3 separate regions of the Homo sapiens genome follow, and all the other regions are linked to region 2. Evidence: promoter capture Hi-C in human tissues and cell types (Jung and others, 2019). All regions are on one chromosome and are shown on one strand. Each heading gives the region's core, a stretch centred on a gene start or on the middle of the fragment in contact. The rest is flanking DNA. Distances are from core to core; before and after follow the strand shown.

Region 1 (3,168 bases), core at 284-2,783, 140 kb after region 2:
TTGACTGTCAGTAACTGAAACTGTGAAAGAGAAACTGCAGATGATGAGGGACTACTATATCAGGATTTAACTTTATCAACTAGAGTACAGTTCTTACGTGCAGGTTTTTTTTTTTTTTTTTTTTTTTTTTTTTTTTTTTTTTTTTGCTTATAGTCTTACCAACTCCATTCACTTCCAAAGTTACTTATGTCAGCACTTTCACCCTGCCCCTTTAAGGGTGTTGTTTAACGTAACTATAATATAGAGTACCCTGTCAGAGTCTGAATTCTCTTTTTTTTTTTTTGAGACAGAGTCTTGCTCTGTCACTAAGGCTGGAGTGCAGTGATGCGATCTCGGCTCACTGCAACCTCTGCCTCCCGGGTTCAAGCAATTCTCCTGCTTCAGCCTCCTGAGTAGCTGGGAATACAGGCGACTGCTACCATGCCCAGATAATTTTTTGGATTTTTAGTAGAGACAGGGTTTCGCTGTGTTAGCCAGGATGGTCTCGATTTCCTGACCTCAGGATCTGCCTGCCTTAGCCTCCCAAAGTGCTGGGATTACAGGCGTGAGCCACTGTGCCTGGCCAGAGTCTGAATTCTTGTCTGGGTTCTCCCAACCTCCTAAATGATTTCTTTTTAATTTGCATACATTGAGGTCCACTTTTTGTGTTATAAAGTTCTATAGTTTGATAAATGCATAATGTCATGTAGCCACCATTAATAATATGATACAGAATAATTTCACTGCCCTAAAAAATCTTGCACTTCACCTATTCATCCTTCCCCTTTTCCCCAAGCCACTAGCAACCACTGATGTTTTTACTATCACTTATATTAGGTTGTATAAAGTACTTTTGCATCAACCTAATATTTTTGCCTTTTCCAGAATGTTATATTGTTGGAATCATACAGTATGTTACCTTTACAGACTGGCTTTTTCCACTTAGCAATATAGGTTCCTCCATGCCTTTCTTTGGCTTGATAGCTTAATTCTTTTCATTGCTGAGTAATATTATATCATATGGATGTATCACAGTTTTAGTTCATTTTTTAGTTGCTCTCTAGTATATTGTATGGCTCTATTTAACTCATTTTCTATGATGGACATGCAGGCTGTTTTCTTTAATTCTTCTTTCGTTCCCCCTCTTTGAGGAAGAAGTATATATACTTCTCTCTCCATTTGTTACATAACCAAGCTTCATATCACAGAAGTGTATGTCTTCTCCTCTGCCATAAGACTGGCATGTCCTAGATGGGGCTGCTACATTCACTGGGTACAAGAGTAAAGACAGCTTACAGATGAGTAATATAAAAGAAAAAGAGACCTTTGTAATTGTAAGCCATTTTGTGGACCTTTGTAACATGCATAACAAAAGAAAAAGCTAGCAAGTACCTCCCCAGTCCTCATTTTTTTTTTTTTTTTTTTTTTGGGGGGGATAGGGCCTCACTCTGTCACCCAGGCTGGAGTTCAGTGGCATGATCTCAGCTCACTGAAGCCTTGAGCTCCCTGGCTCAAGCGATCCTCCTGTCTCAGCCTCCCTCATAGTTGGGACCAAAATCATATGCCACCATGCTCAACTAATTTTTAAAAAAAATTTTAAATTTTTTTTGTAGAGACGGGGTTTCGTCATGTTGCCCAGGTTGGTCTCGAACTCCTGGGCTCAAACCATCTGCCCGCCTCCACCTTTGCTTCCCAAAGTGCTGGGATTACAGGTGTGAGCCACTGTGCCCAGACCCAATCATCATTTCGAACACCATCTCCCCTCATCTTAGCTTTTCTTCTTGTTATTCTTTTGCAAAGCTGGGTCCACAATTCATTCAGTAGGGAGTAATATTGAAAGGATTCCAGTTTCAATTTAATATTTTATTTGGCTTTTGGTTGTCTATTCAAGGTTTATGACAAAATTTGCTAAGTTTTAAATCTGTGCTTACTATTTTTGGGGAGATAAGGAAGGTAATGAATTCTTTGGAGTTACACTGTCCAATACATTAGTTACTAGTCATATTTGGCAATTTAAATTTAACTTACTTAAAATTAAATAAAATTAAAAATTCAATTTCTCATAGCACCAGCCACATTTCAGGAGCTCAACAGCCACATGTGGCTAGTGGCTACCATATTGAACAACACAATTTTATATATATCTCCATCACTGCAGGAACGTCTATTGAACAGCACTGCCTTAGATAGTATGCTGAAAGCTATATATGCATATTTAACGAACAAGCATAGAGTTCATGAAGCTAGCATGGATCTCGGGGTAAATTCCTTGCTCTAATTAGTATGCCTTATGTTGCCTTAGGGTTAGTGTCTGACCTTGAAATAACTGAAAAAAAATATGTCTATAAAACTCTCTGACTGCCCTGAACCTTGGATCCTATACCTATTAATCCATGTAACATCAAGCAACAGTGAGAGGAGAAGAGTCTTTAAAAATATGGTTCAGTGCCTAGAAGTAGCTATTGTAAATGCAAGGTGACAAGGAAGGTACACTAAGAGGAAAGAGGCTTCCTCTATCCTTCCTTACTCACCATTGAGGGAACAGAATAGATTGTGTGTGTGTGCGTGTATAGGGGGCAGTCAGAAAGGAGGCATTTCCAGTGAAACCCTAACATGCAAAATGCCCATACTAGTTTATGCCTAGTACACTCAAATACTACCTCCCCACCTCCATTGTTGCAAGGAAAAAATAATTATATTCCTTTTCAAGTTGGAACACCCAGGCTCACAAAAGTAAATTGTCCAAGATCACACAACTTGTAAATGGCCAAGTCAGGGCTCTAACCAAGGTCCTCCTGGCACTTACTCTTCCACATACTACCTCCCTATCTGTTCCCACGTCCCCGCTCCTCCTAGCAGCTCTGGCGAATTGTGAAGGAGCCATCCAAATTCAGGGCTGTAAGTCAGGAGCTGCAGTGTCCTGCCACTATCTGTAGTTGAGACTCTTGTCTTACAGGTGCCAATTTATTTACTCCTTTACCTAAATCGGTAAGGCTGGTGGGCATCGAATAACCTAAGCGCCGGGGAGTTTTAAAGCCACAGGGATTGGGGCTCGCGCTCCGTCCCGCACAGATCCCATTCCGCTGCTCTGAGGGTTCCCGCGATCGCCAGGGGACACCCAACACCAGGGGTCGGAGAAGCGAGAGAGGCCTAGGCTATACATTGGCACCAGCACCTGGAGCAGCCGAG
Region 2 (3,111 bases), core at 442-2,941:
CATTACCCATTAGAGCAAAAAAAGTACTGTCCAGTACTAAACACAAAATCCAGGGACGACAACCCAGAAGGAATATAGGATGCAAAAGGTAGCATGGCGCTGGGCACGGTGGCTCATGCCTGTAATCCCAGCATTTTGGGAGGCCGAGGCGGGCGGATCACAAGGTCAGGAGATCGAGACCATCCTGGCTAACATGGTGAAACCCCGACTCTACTAAAAATACAAAGAAAAAAAAAATTAGCCGGGCGTGGTGGTGGGTGCCTGTAATCCCAGCTACTCGGGAGGCTGAGGCAGGAGAATGGCATTAACCCGGAAGGCGGAGCTTGCAGTGAGCCGAGATGGCGCCACTGCACTTGAGCCTGTGTGACAGTGCAAGACTCTGTCTCAAAAGAAAAAAAAAAAAAAAAGGTAGCATGGTTCTTCCAAAAGGCATCACAAAATCTTGACAGAAACACAAAGATCAGGCTGGGCAGAGTACTGAGCACCTGCAATCCCAGCTACTGGTTAGGCAGAGGCAGGAAAAGTTCTTGAGTCCAGAAAGCGGAGCCTGTAATGTGCAACGATCGTGCCTATGAGTAGTCACTGCACTCCAGCCTGGGCAACATGGCGAGACCCTGTCTCTAAAAAAATGTTTTTAAATAAAAACACAAGAACCGTTTAATAAAGGATTTTTTTATTTTATTAATATTATCATTATTTTGAGACGGAGTTTTGCTCTTTTGCCCAGGCTGGAGTGAAGTGGCGCAATCTCGGCTCACTGCAACCTCTGCCCCCGGGTTCAAGCGATTCTCCTGCCTCAGACTCCCGAGTAGCTGGGATTATAGGCGCCCGCCACCATGCCCGGCTAATTTTTGTATTTTTAGTAGAGACGGGGTTTCGCCGTGTTGGCCAAGCTGGTCTCAAACTCCTGACCTCAGGTGATCCACCTGCCTTGGCATCCCAAAGTGCTGGGATTAAAGAAGTGAGCCACTGCACCTGGCCATAAACCATTGTTAATAATGTTAATTCACCCTTTATCTGGAGTAACATAGTAGAAGGTAAACGCAGCAATGAACTAAGAAGCTACCAGCGAGTAGTTGGTAGCTCCCTTTCCCAAGGCACTGACCCCGAACCCCAACCTCCTACAACGGACGACTGTCAGCAGCAGCATAATCTATGGTTCGCAGAATAGACTAATATAGAGTTCTGGCCTGGCCCGCCTGATCCTTGCGAGACACTGATCGAGGCTAAAACCACAGAAGGTAGGATTCTCACTAGCTTTGAGGAAAGGAAGAGGTCCCCCGCTTCAGACCGGGGGAGGCGGGAAGGAAGCAGCCTGCGTCCTACGCCAAGTTCCACAGCACCCGCGCTCCTCACCGATCGTGTCCACGCGGTGAGTGAGGAGCAGAGTCCGAGAGCCGCACCGAGCGGCGGCGGTGGCTGCCTCAGTCCCGGCATGTCCTCCACCAATGACTATCACGTCGAAGTGCGGAGTCCGGGGCGCCGCGCTGTCACTGCTCAACCGTGCCAACGGAAATTGCTGCTTGGTGAAGGAAACCGCGACCCAACGGCCACAGCCTCGGAAGTAGAACATGCTGGGAGAAAAATCTATCTGACTTTGAAGCTGACACGAGTGACGGTCAAAAAAACTTACGCAACAAGAGACAATCTGCAGGGCGCGGCCATCTTGCTTTAATATCACGGGGTAGGACGTCTACGTCCAGCGTCGCCGCTGATTGGCGGTTTGGAGCTACTTTCCTGGTGAGGGAGATGGGTGATCGCACGGAGGGCCGGTTGTGTATTTTCTTTCCTAGTTCGTGCGGGCTTTTTTTATTATTATTATTTTTTATTTTTATTTATTTATTTATTTATTTATTTATTTATTTATTTATTTATTTATTTATTTATTTATTTTGAGACAGAGTCTCGCTCTGTTGCCCAGGCTGGAATGCAGTGGCGCGATTTCGGCTCACTGCAAGCTCCCCCTCCCGGGTTCGCGCCATTCTCCTGCCTTAGCCTCCGAGTAGCTGGGGCTACAGGCGCCCGCCACTACGCCCGGCTAATTTTTTGTATTTTTAGTAGAGACTGGGTTTCACCGTATTAGCCAGGATGTTCTCGATTTCCTGACCTCGTGATCCGCCCGTGCGGGCTTTTTTTGATTTCCTGTGGTTCTGGGTTGGGAGCTCCTACTAAAGGTCATCTTTTGTACTTTCTTAGGCCCTGCAGTCCTTATCGCCAGGTGGCCACCTACGATCAATGAATTTGATCACTTTGCCTTATCAGATCTTTGTGATCTGACAATCTGATACACCGTCACCTTCTGTTTGTCTATAAAAACTAAGGGCTGAAAATAAGAATAGATTCGGGCCGGGCGCGGTGGCTCACGCCTGTATTCCCAGCACTCTGGGAGGCCGAAGCAGGTGGATCACAAGGTCAGGAGATGGAGACCATCCTGGTCAACATGGTGAAACCCCATCGCTACTAAAAAAAAAAAAAAAAAAAAAAAAAAAAAAAATTAGCCGGGAGTGGTGGCATGCACCTGTAATCCCAGCTACTCAGGAGACTGAGGCAGGAGAATCGCTTGAACCTGGGAGGCCGAGGTTGCAGTGAACCAAGATTGTGCCACTGCACTCCAGCCTGGGCGACAGAGCAAGACTCCGTCTCAAAAAAAAAAAAAGAAAAAGAAAAGAAAAAGAATAGATTCGAAAGGAGTTCAAATATATTTGTGGACTGAAAGATTCATGATGGTGCCTGGGCATGGTGGATCACGCCTGTAATCCTAGCACTTTGGAAGGCCGAAGGGGGCAGATTGCCTGAGCTCAGGAGTTCGAGACCAATCTGGGCAACATGGTGAAACCCCGTCTGTACTAAAATACAAAAAAAAAAATTAGCCAGGTGTGGTGGCATGCACCTGTAGTCCCAGCTACTTGGGCGGCTGAGGCAGGAGAATTGCTTGAACCCGTAGGCAGAGGTTGCAGTGAGCCGAGATCGTGCCACTGCACTCCAGCCTGGCGACAAGAGTGAGACTCTGTCTCAAAAAAAAAAAAAAGAGAGAGAGAGATTCATGATGGCTAATTGGTTAATTAGAAGAATCGGTTGGTTGGAGGTTAAATGTCCAGCCTTTTGGAATTC
Region 3 (2,967 bases), core at 386-2,885, 170 kb before region 2:
AATAGTACATTTGCTATCAAAAAATCACTATCTTAGGTATTTTGAATTTCTTCTCAAGCAAAGTAGGATGTTCTCACTTGGTAGTTTTAATGTTTTTTTTTTTTTTTTCTTTTTACTTAGTCCCAAGGCATTTTATTGCTCAATTTCCTTGGCAGCATGATACACATTTTTAATAAATTAGATTTTCACATAGACATGTCATGCAAGAAATATATCTGCAATCAAAATTTAAAACTCAACTAACAAAAACAGACACCTTTGGAAATATGTAGATTGTGGAAATGTATCTTCAAAAAGATTTGTCTGGTAGACCCTGATAGGCAAAGTCATGTGGTTAAAAGTTGTTTTCTTCTGGCTGGGTGCAGTGGCTCACACCTGTAATCCCAGCACTTTGGGAGGCCGAGGCGGGTGGATCACGAGGTCAGGAGTTCAAGACCAGCCTGGCCAACATGGTGGAACCCCATCTCTACTCAAAATACAAAAATTAGCCAGGCGTGGTGGCACGTGCCTGTAGTCCCAGCTACTCAGGAGGCTGAGACAGTAGAGTTGCTTGAACCCAGCAGGCGGAGGTTGCAGTGAGCCGAGATCACGTCACTGCACTCCAGCCTGTGAGACAGAGCAAGACTCTATCTCAAAAAAAAAAAAAAAAGTTGTTTTCTTCAAAATGTATAAGCAATAATACAGTTATAGCAATTATCCCATTAAAGAATTGAGAGAAACTTGAAATTGAATCCAAACTGAAGTCAGTTTTACATTGAATTTATAGTTACATAATTTTTTCAAGACATGTAAAAATTGTTGTTGGTGCTTTCTAATTTTGTGTTTTTGTTTTGTTTTGTTTGTTATTTGGTACATTCTAATTTTATCTAACTATTATTTTTCTATTTTAAGGTACTATTGGAATATTTTGGTTTCTTTTGTGGATCTGGTTAGTTAGTGACACACCACAAAAACACAAGAGAATTTCCCATTATGAAAAGGAATACATTCTTTCATCATTAAGAAATCAGGTATGGACTTTGACACATTTTAAAAATAATGTCAGAAACTTTTTTTCTTCAGAATTAAGATATCAGTTTTTAAAAATATATATTCCTATTGTGCATGCTCTAGACAAAGTAGAATAGGCAAATGAAATGAACATCCAAAGTATTGTCTGGCTGGGTGCAGTGGCTCACACTTGTAATCCCAGTCCTTTGGGGAGGTCTAGGTGGGAGGATCATTTGAGGTCAGGAGACTAGCCTAGTCAACATAGTGAGACCCTTTCTCTACAAAACATTTAAAATATTTAAAAAAAAATTTTAAATACATAAATATGAACAAAGTATTGTCTGAAGAATTTCAGTTCTTTCATTTTTTATAGAAAGTATAGTTTTATAAACTATAAAAAATATTTTTAAGTCATTTTAAAACCTTTTAGTGTAGTGATTATCAAATGAGTCTTAAGTTTGTTTTTTCCACTTGATTAGTAGAAAATAAAATGTGTTATTCATGAAAGGATTCTCATTCTGACCATTAGTTGTTAGAAAACCAACTAGTGTGTTTATACAGTTGTACATCCCAAATCTGAAAATTCTAAATCCAAAATACTCTGAAATCCAAAAGTTTTTGAGAACCCACATGATGCTCAAAGGAAATGCTCATTGGAGCATTTCAGAGTTCAGATTTTTGGATTTTAAGATTTAGGATGCTTGGCCAGCCTGATGGCTCACTCCTGTAATCCCAGCACTTTGGGAGGCTGAGGCAGGCGGATCGCCTGAGGTCAGGAGTTCGAGATCAGCCCGGCCAACATGACAAAACCCCATCTCTGCTAAAAATACAAAAATTAGCTGGGCATGGTGGCACACACCTGTAGTCCCAGCTACTCGGGAGGCTGAGACAGGAGAATTCCTTGAACCCAGGAGGCAGAGGTTGCAGTGAGCTGAGATCGTGCCACTGCACTCCAGCCTGGGTGACAGAGCAAGACTCCATCTCGAAAAGAAAAACAAGATTTAGGATGCTTAATTGGGAAGGTACGTGATACAAATATTCTAAAATCCAGAATCCAAAACACTTCTGGTTCCAAGCATTTCAGACAAGGGATATTGGACCTGTATCTATATTTTAAATGAGTGTCATTAAAGAAAGAGAACAGCACATTTATTATGATATAATATTATAATATGATATACATCTGTTTGCTCTTCTAGAGTAGGTCTTTAGAAAAAAGTTTATATCTTATTAAAACCAGATTTCAATCACTTAATCGAGCACAAAGGCAAATCACAAATAAAAATCTATAATAATTCAATATACTAAATTCTCAAACCATGGAAACAAAATGTTTGCCTTTTGAGTAGAATAAAAGAAGAACATAAAAACATTAGGAAAGATTAAAATATACACAGTTTGTTTTCAGCATTCTTGTTGGCTTCAAAGTCACTTTATTAGTTTAAGAACATAAAATATTTAAGACTTTTCCTATTAAATTGTCATGATTGATATTTTATTTTATTTTATTTATTTTTTTTTTTAGACGGAGTTTCGCTCTCTCACCCAGGCTGGAGTGTAGTGGCACAATCTCAGCTCACTGCAACCTCTATCTCCCTGGTTCAAGCAATTCTCCTGCCTCAGCCTCCTGAGTTGCTGGGATTACAGGTGCATGCCACCACTCCCAGCTAATTTTTTGTATTTTTAGTAGAGACGGGATTTCACCTTATTGGCCAGGCTGGTCTCGAACTCCTGGCCTCAAGCGATCCTCCCACCTTGGCCTCCCAAAGTGCTGGGATTACAGGCATGAACCACTGTGCCTAGCCCAAGATTGATATTTTAAATATTTATATACAATATAACCAGGCAGTAAAATTAAAAACTTAGTCTTGGCTGGGCATGGTGATTTACGCCTGTAATCCCAGCACTTTGGGAGGCTAAGGCAGGCAGTTTTCTTGAGCCCTGGAGTTCAAGACCAGCCTGGACAACATAGCGAGA

The links. The method cuts DNA at HindIII sites, captures the fragments that hold promoters and counts their contacts. A contact is called where the count stands out against the background at its distance.
Region 1: a contact is called between a fragment that was not itself captured here and the fragment with the promoter of MTO1 in region 2, in 1 of the 25 tissues and cell types used here (pancreas).
Region 3: a fragment that was not itself captured here is called in contact with the fragment with the promoter of MTO1 in region 2 in 4 of the 25 tissues and cell types used here (aorta, bladder, liver and 1 more).

Annotation. Positions count from the first base shown.
Region 1 is chr6:73,315,114-73,318,281 of GRCh38, reverse strand. No RefSeq gene overlaps it. Among named protein-coding and RNA genes, the nearest start is that of C6orf147, 6.3 kb to the right of the region's middle. The HindIII fragment of the contact is 5,323 bases long and covers 1-3,168 here.
Region 2 is chr6:73,460,317-73,463,427 of GRCh38, reverse strand. MTO1 (mitochondrial tRNA translation optimization 1) reads right to left here and starts at 1,691. Exons shown (of 12, transcript NM_012123.4): 1 at 1,357-1,691. The coding sequence starts at 1,573. RefSeq lists enhancers at 1,151-1,200, 1,221-1,280, 1,351-1,680, 853-1,698 and a silencer at 2,131-2,190. The HindIII fragment of the contact is 26,494 bases long and covers 1-3,111 here.
Region 3 is chr6:73,633,425-73,636,391 of GRCh38, reverse strand. SLC17A5 (solute carrier family 17 member 5) reads left to right here. Exons shown (of 11, transcript NM_012434.5): 6 at 892-1,010. Among named protein-coding and RNA genes, the nearest start is that of SLC17A5, 19 kb to the left of the region's middle. The HindIII fragment of the contact is 5,424 bases long and covers 1-2,967 here.